Linked DNA regions of Homo sapiens: region 2 is linked to region 1. The links are contacts of gene promoters, found by promoter capture Hi-C in blood cells and fetal thymus (Javierre and others, 2016). All regions are on one chromosome and are shown on one strand. Each heading gives the region's core, a stretch centred on a gene start or on the middle of the fragment in contact. The rest is flanking DNA. Distances are from core to core; before and after follow the strand shown.

What was found. Contacts are between HindIII fragments. The CHiCAGO score rates a contact against its expected background, and 5 or more counts as called.
Region 2: a contact is called between the fragment with the promoter of EGR4 here and the fragment with the promoter of WBP1 in region 1, in 1 of 17 cell types (fetal thymus). The highest score is 6.5, in fetal thymus.

What each region holds. Positions count from the first base shown.
Region 1 is chr2:74,455,861-74,462,339 of GRCh38, forward strand. It overlaps WBP1 (WW domain binding protein 1), which reads left to right and starts at 2,578. Exons shown (of 4, transcript NM_012477.4): 1 at 2,578-2,811; 2 at 3,783-3,885; 3 at 4,013-4,189; 4 at 4,361-5,021. The coding sequence starts at 2,743. The coding sequence ends at 4,821. It overlaps INO80B (INO80 complex subunit B), which reads left to right. Exons shown (of 5, transcript NM_031288.4): 3 at 1-76; 4 at 243-412; 5 at 1,474-2,084. The coding sequence ends at 2,004. It overlaps INO80B-WBP1 (INO80B-WBP1 readthrough (NMD candidate)), which reads left to right. Exons shown (of 8, transcript NR_037849.1): 3 at 1-76; 4 at 243-412; 5 at 1,474-2,000; 6 at 3,783-3,885; 7 at 4,013-4,189; 8 at 4,361-5,031. MOGS (mannosyl-oligosaccharide glucosidase) reads right to left here. Exons shown (of 4, transcript NM_006302.3): 4 at 5,197-6,479. The coding sequence ends at 5,415. RefSeq lists enhancers at 1,381-1,450, 1,949-2,455, 2,081-2,230, 2,456-2,963, 2,901-3,010 and a silencer at 1,591-1,830. The HindIII fragment of the contact is 3,318 bases long and covers 1-3,025 here.
Region 2 is chr2:73,291,137-73,297,615 of GRCh38, forward strand. EGR4 (early growth response 4) reads right to left here and starts at 2,412. Exons shown (of 2, transcript NM_001965.4): 1 at 2,046-2,412; 2 at 1-1,645. The coding sequence starts at 2,181. The coding sequence ends at 321. RefSeq lists an enhancer at 3-698 and a silencer at 2,695-2,774. The HindIII fragment of the contact is 1,844 bases long and covers 1,928-3,771 here.

The DNA of each region.
Region 1 (6,479 bases), core at 1,328-3,827:
TCTCCCCTTATGGTTGTGGATAATGAAGAGGAACCTATGGAAGGAGTCCCCCTTGAGCAGTACCGTGCCTGGCTGGGTGAGGATCTGGAGGTGGGGAAACTGGGTTTCTTATTATACCCGCCTAAAGAAAGAAGGTTGGTTCTGAAATGGGTTAGGATTTTCCATGTCCCAGTATTAACTCAGCCAAATTAGGGTGCCCCATCTGAACAATTCTGTTTTTCTTTCTCCAACTTCCTTCCCAGATGAAGACAGTAATCTCTCTCCCTCTCCACTTCGGGACCTATCAGGAGGGTTAGGGGGTCAGGAGGAAGAGGAGGAACAGAGGTGGCTGGATGCCCTGGAGAAGGGGGAGCTGGATGACAATGGAGACCTCAAGAAGGAGATCAATGAGCGGCTGCTTACTGCTCGACAGGTATGTTGGTTCATTGTTTATTCACTCACCAAATGTATACAGTATTGAGAACTCTCCACGACCCACGCACTTTGCGTGGCATTGGGGATATCGATAGTAGAGAAAAGACAAAGTTTCTGTTCTCCTGGAGCTAGTATTCTAGTGTGTGTGTTGGGGGGCTGGGAAGTAAATAAGTAAATAATTTCAAAAAGCTATATGGTTTATGACAAAAAGAAAAGGGTGATGAAATAGAAAGTGGCGTAAACAAACAGATAGAAATGATGGAAGAGAGACATTAGGGTAGTTAGAGAAGGCTTCTTTGAAGAGATAACATTTGCAATACCAGAAGAGCTTTTGAGCAGAGACCAGCAGGCGCACAGACCTTGAGACTGGAACATGTCTAGCAAAGGAGAAGAAAAAGTGGACAAGCCACTGAAGGGCTGTACGCAGAGAAGTGACATACTTGGTTTACATTTCAATAGATTACTTTGGCATCTTTGTAGAGAATGAATCTTCGTGGAGACAAGAGATAGAAGTATGGAGAACAACTAGGAAGCTGTTGAAGTAATCAGCTGAGAGGCAGTGGTTGCTTTAACCAAGACGAAAGTGGTGGAGATGGAGAAAATCAGATGAATTATGGCTATATTTTGGAAGTAGATACTTGTGGGGAGGGGAATGGAGAGAAAATATATCAAGGCTAAGCCTGGGATTTTGGCTTGAGCAGTTATCCACCTGATACTCTCTATTGAGATAAGATTAAAAATAACAACAGACCTCTGGGAAAGCTGGTACAGTTTTGGTGCACAGGTCAGGCAGGTAACATTACTGATGCTTCTCCCCTTGAGAGATAAGGACCTAAAGCTAAATGTCAGGAGATCTGGGAGGAGGCAGTATTTATGAAGAGGAACCTATGGAAGGTGTCCTGGAGAGGGTGCTCATTAATTAATATCCCGCCTCCGAAGGCCTGCACTGCTCAAGACCCTGCCTTCCATGTCCCTTCTTTCCCCTCCCCCGATCTGGCCGACCTCGCCTCTCCATCTTCCTCCATTTTCAGACAGCACCCCGTCTCTGTCTCTCCCTAGCGAGCTCTGCTCCAGAAGGCGCGGAGTCAACCTTCCCCTATGCTGCCGCTGCCTGTAGCTGAGGGCTGCCCACCTCCCGCCCTCACAGAGGAGATGCTGCTGAAGCGCGAGGAGCGGGCGCGGAAGCGGCGGCTCCAGGCGGCGCGGCGGGCAGAAGAGCACAAGAACCAGACTATCGAGCGCCTCACCAAGACTGCGGCGACCAGTGGGCGGGGAGGCCGGGGGGGCGCACGGGGCGAGCGGCGGGGAGGGCGGGCTGCGGCTCCGGCCCCCATGGTGCGCTACTGCAGCGGAGCACAGGGTTCCACCCTTTCCTTCCCACCTGGCGTCCCCGCCCCCACGGCAGTGTCTCAGCGGCCATCCCCCTCAGGCCCGCCGCCGCGCTGCTCTGTCCCCGGCTGTCCCCATCCGCGCCGCTACGCTTGCTCCCGCACAGGCCAGGCACTCTGTAGTCTTCAGTGCTACCGCATCAACCTGCAGATGCGGCTGGGGGGGCCCGAGGGTCCTGGATCCCCCCTTTTGGCTACGTAAGGCCCTTAACCCGGACTCTGCGCCCCGTCCCATGCCCGCTCTTGAGTATCTTCCCCACCCTATTAAATTACATCCGGTGCTTCGGCTTGTACAGAACTGGGGGAGTGGGATGTTGTGGGCAGACCAGTCTCCGGTATACACGTATTTTGCCCCTGTCGGAGCTTGCGTCGATGCCTGGGGCTTGGAAACCACCGCAAAAAACCAGGCTGCAAACCAGCGGACCGACTTTTGGGACTCCGCCTCTTCCAGCCGGGATTACCTGGCGTGCTTCGGCCTTTGGCGTCATTCCGAAAACATACCGCAAGCCAATCAGCGGCAACCTTGCTCTTCGGGGCGGCTGTTCGTTGGTTGATATGCCAGAGCCTGTTCTGTTGTCTGTATTGGCTATTGCCGCTGTCAGTCAGGGCCGTGGGTCGAACCTTCACCTACTCTTTGTCTGTACAAGCTCTTGTTGTCTGGGTGAGCGGCGGAGGCGCTGCTGTGGATTGGTCACAGGGAGAAACCTCTGATCTGTTCCTATTGGCCCGTCCGTCAAGGGACGATGATGATTGGTAGGGCAGAGCAATCTGAGTCCTAGTTGGTGGAGTTCTGCCCGGATGGAAGCTCCGGCCGCGGAGTGATGGTGGCCTCAGCGAAGATGGGCCGGGCAGGGACCATGGCGGTGGCAGCAGAGGTGGCAGGGGCGGGGCGGCTGGCGGTAGAGGAGGCTGTGGTCCTCAGGGGGCTGTAGGTGGAGGTATGGCTCGGGCCAGCAGCGGGAACGGCAGCGAGGAGGCCTGGGGGGCACTTCGGGCGCCGCAACAGCAGGTATCCCAATAGCTCCAAAACCTATCACGACAGCCATTTGTCTCTTTCCCCTTTCCTTGTCCCTTCCTTTTGGGGGTGGGGGAGGAACTCACGGAGCCAAAGGTACTGTGAAGTTCCTAAACATGTCTCTTCCACTCTTTGTCTAAACTTTGTAACGTAGATGCAGCTGACTTTGCCTGTAGCCTCATAGAACCCATCCCATGGCTGCAGTGGAAGCTTGCGGTGGCTCTCCAGTGACCAGAGGCATAGTGAGGTCCCAGGGAGGCTCCCTCTGTCTTGCAACAGTTATTTGTGATCTTTTTCTATGTGCCTATTGTCACAACAGAGTCCGGCAGCGTCTTCTCTTGAGGGAGCAATTTGGAGAAGAGCTGGAACCCAGACTCGCGCCCTGGATGCCATCCTTTATCATCCACAGCAATCCCATCTGGTTGGGAGCACTGCTCTGGGTCTCACACTGCCCCTCCTCTATCCTAGGGAGCCTGAGGCCCAGGGGTGGAAAGATCCAGTTGCGGGTGGGGGGTAGTGAACCGCGCAGGATAATGAAAGCAACTTGCTTTGGAAATGACCTACCGCTACCCGTTGTCTGAGACTGAGATTATCTCAGACTGTCTTCTGGCTTCTGCCAAAACACTCCCTTAACAGAAAGCACCGAGGGGATGGGGGTAGGGGGGTTGGGGAGAGTGAGGCTTGAGTGTGAAGGAAGTCTCATATATGCAGAGCTGAAATCTCCCTCTTTGTATGTCCACACTTTTGTCTTGTTCTCTAGACTGATTCTTGCTATTCCAAATCCTCTTCCACGTTGACAGCCCTTCAGATATTTCAACACTCCTCTCAGCATCCTCCACTTCCCCCATCTCTCCAAGCTGAACTTGGTTCACAGGGTGGGATTGTGTATGTGCATGCAGGAGGTGGGGGTGGACAGTGCCCTGGGCTGGAATCCCCCTTAGTTCTAAGTGCCTCCTTGCCCGCAGCTTCGAGAGCTGTGCCCAGGAGTGAACAACCAGCCCTACCTCTGTGAGAGTGGTCACTGCTGCGGGGAGACTGGCTGCTGCACCTACTACTATGAGCTCTGGTGTAAGTCTCCAAGAGGGCTATTTCCAGGTCCCTGTGTCCACCCTCCCTTGGACCTCAGAATTTCGGCCTTCAGGGCCCCTTCTCTGCATGAAAGATGCCTGAGTTGCTCCCTCCTTGCCTCTTGCAGGGTTCTGGCTGCTCTGGACTGTCCTCATCCTCTTTAGCTGCTGTTGCGCCTTCCGCCACCGACGAGCTAAACTCAGGCTGCAACAACAGCAGCGGCAGCGTGAAATCAACTTGTTGGCCTATCATGGGGCATGCCATGGGGCTGGTCCTTTCCCTACCGGTTCACTGCTTGACCTTCGTGAGTGACTTGATGCCCTGGGTCAGCTACCAGTGGCCCTCCCCAAACCAGAACCCCAAATCGTCTCACATTCCCTTTTCCACACATTTCAAAGTATTTTTCCCTAATATAAAAACTAGCACCCTATACCTGGTTGTCTTCAACCAATCATGCCAATTTTCTCCCCTGCAGGCTTCCTCAGCACCTTCAAGCCCCCAGCCTACGAGGATGTGGTTCACCGCCCAGGCACACCACCCCCCCCTTATACTGTGGCCCCAGGCCGCCCCTTGACTGCTTCCAGTGAACAAACCTGCTGTTCCTCCTCATCCAGCTGCCCTGCCCACTTTGAAGGAACAAATGTGGAAGGTGTTTCCTCCCACCAGAGTGCCCCCCCTCATCAGGAGGGTGAGCCCGGGGCAGGGGTGACCCCTGCCTCCACACCCCCCTCCTGCCGCTATCGCCGTTTAACTGGCGACTCCGGTATTGAGCTCTGCCCTTGTCCTGCCTCCGGTGAGGGTGAGCCAGTCAAGGAGGTGAGGGTTAGTGCCACCCTGCCAGATCTGGAGGACTACTCCCCGTGTGCACTACCCCCAGAGTCTGTACCGCAGATCTTTCCCATGGGGCTGTCTTCCAGTGAAGGGGACATCCCATAAGTAGTTTTGAGAGGGTGGATGGGTTACTTGCCCACCAGAAACAGCCCTAGTCCCAACTCCTTGCGTTCCTTTGGCCCCTCCCTGCCTACCTAGAATCTGCCTGAAAGGGCTGGAGAGGGGCAGTATTGGGGGACTGTGCTAGCTTTACCCCCGCAGGACATACACAGGAGCCTTTGATCTCATTAAAGAGATGTGAACCAGCTACTTGTGGATTTGGGTGGACTAAAGCTCAACTCACTGCATTGCACTTGACCTGACTGGGTTTGAAGGGGACAGGTTATGGCCACTTGACCCCACCTTCCCTGAGGACAGCAGACAGTGCTGAGGCCTGGACTGACCTAAGGCCTCTTGGTGAGGCAAATCTGGCAAAAGCAATAGAGTTCAAAATGTTTTTTCCAATTTATTTAGAAAAATAGACTCTGGATTCACATTCACCCCAGGGCTATGTGGGATGACAGCAAGGAGACACCTGAGATGAAATGAGGAAGGTTTGAATTACTGGTATCCAAGGGGCTGGGGGCAAAAGCCAGAAGCCTTTGTCCCTTCAGAGCCAGAGTGGCATGAGTGTCTTGGCTCCCCTCCTCTCCCTCCCTTCAGTAGTCTTCAGCCATGGCCAGTAAGACAAGGCTGGTCCAGCCGTGGAAAGGGCGGCAGCCCATGCCTCGCCCATCGCGGTCACTGTACTGCTCCCAAAGAAAGCCTGTAGCCTGGTACTGGCGCCATACATTGCCTACCACGTTGGCACGGAGCTCACCGTGGAGTTTGGCAGCCCGAGCCTGGTGAGGACCCTCCAGATGCCCATAGTGGTGGAGTGCTCCCAAAGCCAGGTAGTTGACATTGAGCCACACAGCACCCCGCCAGTAGGGGGGATCATGCTCTGAATTGCGCTGGCCATAAAAGGAGCTGGAGGCTGCAAGGGAGCGTAAACCAAAGGGGCTCCAGAGATGGCGGCTGTCGGCTAGAATGTCCAGCAGGGGCCCAAGGCGGGATGAGGTGGGGTCCAGCAGTCGCAGCAGCAAGGGAAAAAGACTGACATAGCCAAGAGCATCTACATACTGCAGTTGAGGTTGGGGCCGACCCACCACCCGAACGAGCCCCTGAGGGGGCCTGGGCTTCAGCTGTACTGCTTTTGTGTGGTTCCCAAAGTCTGCAAAGACTCCTAGCTCTGGGGCCCAGTGCAGCTCATCCAGGCTCTCTGCTGCCTCCAGTGAGGCAGCCAGTGGGCCCAGCTCAGCAGCTACCTCAGCCTCACCCAGATGCTCTGCCAGCCGCGTCAGCACACGGGCACCCAGTGCCACCCAACATCGCAGGTCCAGGTGCCGCTCGGTTACTGAAGGGTGTGAAGCCCGGGGGTAGTCATCCAGCCCAGAGGGTAGGGTCTTGGGGTTCAGTAAGGTTGGTAAGGCAGGGTCCCGTCCCCGCCAGCGGTAAGATAGTGGCAGTGGGCCTGCCTGGCTCTGATGGAGCCAGGAAAACCAGGCATGCAGGCGGGGCAAGGCCTTTCGGAGGAAAGCCAAGTCGTCAGGGTCACCAACCTCTAGCATATGGGCTACAGGCAAAAGTAGGGTTGGGGGGTTGGCGTGGACTGCTCGTTGTACTAGGAATTCTGGAGGCACCCGGGCTCGGGCCTCATCCCCCAGTATCTGCTCCCTCCCAAT
Region 2 (6,479 bases), core at 1,162-3,661, 1.2 Mb before region 1:
TATAGAGGAAGGCGTGGGGCGTGTGCCAGTTACAAAAGACTGTCTTGAATCCCAGGGTAGTGCCTATTCACTGGGTGGTCTCAGAAGACTTCCCCCAAAGCGCGGCTGACAAGGGTGACAGCGCCTGGACCGCGGGAACTGTCCGCGGAGCTGGTGCTGAATAGGGCGTGTGCGGCGGGCGCTTCAAGGAAACTGGAAGCGGGACCGGAGGCCGGCCCTCGGGCGTGCGAGGAGGAGTTGGAAGAAGAGCGGGGAGGGGAACGGCCCGGAACTCGTGCGCGCCGAACGGCGGCGCCCCAACCCATAAACCCATCTCTTGCTCAGAGAGAAGCGAAGGAGAGGCCCAGCGAGTAAAAGCCGAGGCCCTTGAGCCGCTCCTCGGCGCGCGCCTTCTGCTTGAGGTGCACCTTGCTGTGCCGTTTCTTCTCATCGCTGCGCGCGAAGCGGCGGCCGCACACGTCGCAAGCAAAAGGCTTCTCGCCGGTGTGGGTGCGCACGTGCGTGGTGAGGTGGTCGCTGCGGCTGAAGTTGCGGAGGCAGATGCGGCACTGGAAGGGTTTGTGGCCCGTGTGGATGCGCAGGTGGCGATTGAGCTCGTCGGAGCGCGCAAAGCTCCGCACACAACTCTCCACCGGGCAAGCGAAGGCCTTGGCGTGCGGCCGCGGGCAGAAGCAGCGCGTGCTGCATTTGCCGCCGCGGCGCCCCTTGCGTCGCGCCTTGGCCTGGGGGAAAGGGGTGGGCGGCGGCGGCGGCACGGGTGGTGCAGCCACGCCACTGCTTCCAGGGATGTCCGCCACCAGAGGTTTAGGGAAGTCCGCCGCGGCGGCGCTGCGAAGGCCCAGCGGGGAAAGCTGAGGCTGCGTACTGGCCAGAAACTCTCCGCCGTCGCCGCTACTCCCTCCCTCCCCACTAGGAGGGGTCAGGAGCCCAGGGAGGCCCTCAGCCCCCTCCCCTAAGTCACCCGGGGCCAGCGGGAAAGCGTCATAGGCCCCGCTGGGATAGAGTCTGTTGGCTGGGACGGCCGGCAGTTCCGCAGGGCAGCTGATGGACAGCAAGTCCTCAATCTTGGTCCCTATTACGGGAAAACGAGCCTCCGGGGCGGCCTGGTAGTCTCCCTGTGACCCACAGTTCCCTGGGGCCCCCACAGAAAGCAGCTCCCAGGGCGCGTAGGGACCCTTGAAGGCAGAGACAGCGTCCAGCGCTGGCGAGGCGGGAGGCGCCCGGAGGCCGGGCTTGACGTCGGGCGGGGAGAGCTGAGGCTCATACAGGCACTGCGAGGGGGCACCCGCGCAAGGCGAGGCCTCCCAGAACGCCTCTGGGAAAGGGGCAGCGCCCAGATCCGGGGAGTAAAGGTCCGGCGGACCCGGCAGCAAGGCATCGGACCCCGCAGGAAAAGGGGCATCCAGCGGGGATCTGGACGCTGCTGCCTCTGGACCGGGGAAGGGTGCCAGGCCTAAGATGCCCGACATGAGGTTGAAGAGTGCCTCCGGGTCGTGCGGGTGTTCGGGCACTGCCTGAATGAAGAAGCTACCGCTGTAGCTGAGGCCGGGAGGGGGTGTGGGCGCAGGCCCCTCCAGGAAGCAGGAGTCGGCTAAGTCCCCACTTGCGCCGCAGCTGTTCAAAGCCCAGCTCAAGAAGTCGCCTGCTGAGGAGGGAGCAGGAATCAGCTCTGGGCACATCAAAGGGTGCACCTGAGTCCACAGCCCCTACCTACAAAACTCTTGGTGCCCACGGATATACACAAAGTGCCTTTTGCACATTCTGATTCAGCAGGGGCCCGCATACGTCCCAAGGAGCACATAGAAACATGCACACGCAAAACACACGTGCACAGGCAAAAGGGCGCTCCGATAACCGCACAGGTTCCTGCGGAGGCGCTGGCGGCCCAGTGTGGGTGGGAATGGGGGTGCGCACCCCAGGACTCCTAAGCTTCCCATCGCCCCTATTCTCATAGCTCCAATGTCCCAGTCCCTCCTGGTTCTCAGGTATGGTGCGCCCCCGCGCTGCGCCGTCGTCGTCTGAGCACCCCTGCTCGCCCTCCTTACCTCCAGGGTAGCCGGTGGCCGCGGGAGCGTCCCTGGCAGGCAGCCGGGGCAATTCAGCGCTGGGTTCGGCGCAACAGCCTTCAGTGGACTTGACGAGGAGCGCGTCGGGTTCGGAAAACTCGCTAAGGTGGAGCATGGCGCGGCGCCGGCTGTGGGGCGCCCGGGGCCTCGCCCGCTGGGCTTGGGGGCGCGCGGGTGGCGGGGAGGCTGGCGGTAGGGGTTCCCCGCAGCGCACAGACCTAGGCGCCCGGGCTCCTGGCTTCGGGCACTCACCTCTGGGAAAGGAGTCGGGGAGCCGCGGCGCCCTCGCTCGCCCGCACCGGCCTCGGGCGGCGGCTCCTCGCCTCTCCAAAGCGCTGCCGGGCTCCCCCAGCCCACAGCCCCCCCACTTATATAGCTGCGGCGGCGCTGGCTCCGGGCTTCCGACTCCCCGGGCCACTGCCATTTTGGGAGGCCCCGGCCCTGCCGCCGTGACGTAAATGCCCAAACATGGACACAGGATGTGTGCCGGGGACTCCCGAAAAGGAAAGCTCGAGCTGTGACGTTGTTGTTGTCGCCGCCGCCGCCAGGCTCGCGCCGCTGCGTGCGCGCGCGCTCCCCAGGCGTGGAGCGCTGGGGCCGCGGATGCGCCAGTCTGGGGCGCTGCGCCTCACCGGGCCGACCGTCCGGTAGATGCGCTTCCCACCTGGAGGCAGAGGCCGAGGGGCAGCAGGGGAGGACCGTGTTGGGTTTGAATCTGCCCTCTGCCACTAACTAGCTTGACACTCAGTCCCCCTTAACGTCAGTTTCTCACCTGTGCATTTCCTGTGGAGAGAAACTGAGAGCACATAAATGTCCAGGCGCACTCAGTAAACCACAGAGATTATTGCCATTCATTTCTTTTGCTCACGCCTGTGTGTTTTTCCATTTTAAGTTTTTTTTTTTTAAATTTGTGCTAGGAAAAATAATTTAAATTAAAAAGGACTGTAATACTTGTTAACAGTAGGAGGAAAGTCAACTAGCACAACAGGGTATATTCTAAATTGAAAAGTAAAAGTCCCTCCTCTCCACCTACCTTCATTCCTAGCTCCTGAGGTAGCCACATTTAAGTTTCTTGGGTATTCTTTCAGAAGAATTTTATGTATATCCAACCATACACATTGTTCTGCAATATTATTATTATTATTATTTTTTCACTTGAAATAACTTAGAGATTGTGCCATGTCCTGACATAAAGATCTTGTCATTCTTTTTCAAGGCTGTATAGTACTCCATTGTAAGGGAGGACCTTGAGTTAGTCGATTTGTCCCCTATCCATGAGCATGTAGGCAGTTTCCAACTTTTTACTTATACCAATGTTGTTGGAGTCAACATCCTTGACTATATAAATGTGAATGTGTCTGTGAGATAAATTCCAACGAGTGTAATTGTGTGCCAAAGTATATGTAAAATTTTGATAGACAACTGGCAAATTGTCTTCCAGAAAAGTAGGGCCAATTCCTGCTCACTCCTCCCTCACCCACAGGGTATGAGATGCTTCTGCAGAACATTTTTTCTGCCTTCATACAAATGGCTTTCGCTCTAAGGATGTTGATCCCAGCAACACACAGGGAATCCGTGGGAAATATCTCCCTGGAATCAGTACTTGAAATAATTGGGCTTCTTTTGAGAAAAAAAAAAAAAATCCTAGCCTTAAGGAGGCTGTGAATCTTGGCTGCAGAAGCATCAGAGCCAACTCCAGCAAAGAAGCTTGCCTACTCTCCTAGTCTCATCTCTCTTCTGCTGTGGTTTTCCCTCTGTCTCATTCTCTCATTCTTTTTAAAATGTTTATTTTATTTTGTATTATAGCTCACTTAACTCCTTTCTGGAACCAAATTAAATAAATACATGGGGGGGAAGGATTAAATAAATACATGGAATAGCATGTTCTTCTTTATGAAGAGCATCAATTCCTGAGACTCTGTGTGCTGGAGGGTAAGGTGGGCAGGTTTAGGGCTCCTCCTTCCTTCTCTCCTTTTTTGAAATAGAAACAAAGCCCTTTGGGGGTGGTGGACTCAGCATCATGGGCAGTATAGCTCCCAGCCTCTCTTCCACCCCTGTACCCTCTTTTTCAAGAGAGAGAGAGAGAGCCCAAGAATGCCCAAACCCCACCACATTCTCAGTCCTTTCACCCTATGTCCATTATCCAAACATCCATTCAGTTTCTCAATGTTCATTCATTCAGTATTCATTTCTTAAGTGCCTATTACAGGCCAGAAGGTAGACTTTGGTTTTATGTCTGCTGGGACCCTGAGCCCCATCTCCAGCACTAGGTGCCCACTCCTCATCCCACAGTGACCTTATTAAGTGTTTTCACAGAATATGTCCCTTCACACAATCACCTGCAAAACATATGCTGACACACTTGTATGCATCTTCTCCTGAAGTCCACAAATCATATAAAGGTTCTCACAGGGTCATGCACTTGCAGTGTGTCTTACTAAATGGCTACACCTATGGTTCTGTGTTAGTAGCACATATATGAGCATGTAGGAAATGCAGAAACCCAGCAGATGTCTGTAAAGATTGGACACACCAAGCACGATTTTCCTTATACTCTATTTCAGATCCAGGGTTTGATTCTAATCCAAATGCATTGCCAAGGCCAGGTGAGCCCACACCAGACACACAGGGCACACATGTCTCAAATCCACTCTGGCATCCTACTGCCTGAGAGGGAGGAGGAGGGGAGGAGTTTGACTGGGCTGGTGTCCAGGTCTCCCCAGGTCGCCCCGTCGGGCCAGATTGGTCAGCCCCAGGTTGCCCATCCCTTCTGCTGTTCTTCCCTCTGCCACAGCATTCCTCCTCCTTCTTAGTCACAGATAATTCCCCTACTCTCTTGGTGAGTTGCCAAGCCATTGCTTCTCTCTGCCAAGGGCTGTTGGACTAGGTCTGTGTTAGGACAAGGGTCCAAGTCACCAAAGTTTCTTGTGTTAGAGGCCAGACCTGGGGGCAGGGCTCGGGGGTGGGTAGGAGTGATTAGGAAAGGAGATAGGGAAGAGACAGCTTGTGCTCTGGGTGTGGGATGGCTCACACCCCCATGTCTATGCTACTTACCTCCAATGGACACACATACACACACTCACAGGCACAGAGGATGGCTACCTCTGGAGGGCAATTTGCATCTGCCTTTGGCTCTCTGAAGACTGGGAGGGAATATAAAGGGGGCTGAGCATTTTGTAGTTCTTCCCAGCTCGTCCCTTCTTCTCCCTACGTTTTAACAGCTTACAAAGAGATTCTGGGCCCAGATAAAATAAAAGTCTTTGGGAAGGGAAGGAAGAGAGAAGAGCTTAGATCTATGAGCTCCATTTAAATCACACTTCAAATATAAAAACACAAATGTACACAAGGGAAAAAAGGGAAATCACATACATTGAGCATTTTACAAATATTTTATCATTCAATCTCCACAAAAGTTCTATGGAGTAAGGAATTGGAGACCAATTTCACAGATGAGGAAACAGATTCAAAAAGGTCAAATGACGTGATCGACACCACACTTCTAGTCAGTGGTAGAGCTGAGAGTCAAGTCCAGGCTAGCCTACTCTATAAGACAATTTAGGAAAAGATAATTAATTTTACAAAAGGATTCACTGTTGGATGGCTTTAGATGGAGGATCTCCCTGTAGCTTTCAAATAGGATGTGATGTGCAAACTTGAGCTGGCTGGTGCCCATCCCTGCAAGAATTCCCTGGAGTGATGGCCATGGATAGGAAAACAGTGGGTCACAACTAGTGCTGAGAAGTAGCACATATAAGGTTCTTTGGAGCTGTTGTGTAAGTTGGTGTGTGTGTGTGTGTGTGTGTGTGTGTATGTGTGATCTTGGGGAAGGTGAGAGCGAATTTTCTATTTCCATGGGAAAAGGTGCAAAGGAGAATCACTTTCTAGACAAGCACTGAACAAACATTTGCTGAATGAATTAATGAATGAAGAAATTCATTCATCAAATATTCATTGAGCACAGCCCAGTGCCAGGTGCTGGGTTGGCCCTTCAGATGCTGATGCTGCAGTGCATGAGACTGGAAGCTTTGAATCCAGGGAAGGAGGTGGGGAGGGGCAGAGGGAGGGTAGAGGCAGCCTCCCTGCTCTCTCTTCTGGGGAGGGCTCAGCCCCTGTCATAGTTCTGGTTATGCTACTGCTCCCTCCTCCACACCCTACCTTGATCTTTCTGCTCTAAATATCATTGTGTTCAAATAATAGTGTGTGTATTTTAAAAGACTCCAAGAAGACAGCTGCCTGGGAGTATTAATCATGAAGAGGCCAGCACTCTGTCTCCATGGCGACTCCTGACAGCGAGAGCTGAGGAACAGTTCCATGTCCCACTTCCTGGGGCCATGGAGATGCAGGGGCACTGCATCTCTCACTCCTCTTTCCTCTCTGCTTCTTTCTTCTCCTTCCTTTCCTCTCCTCTCTTCT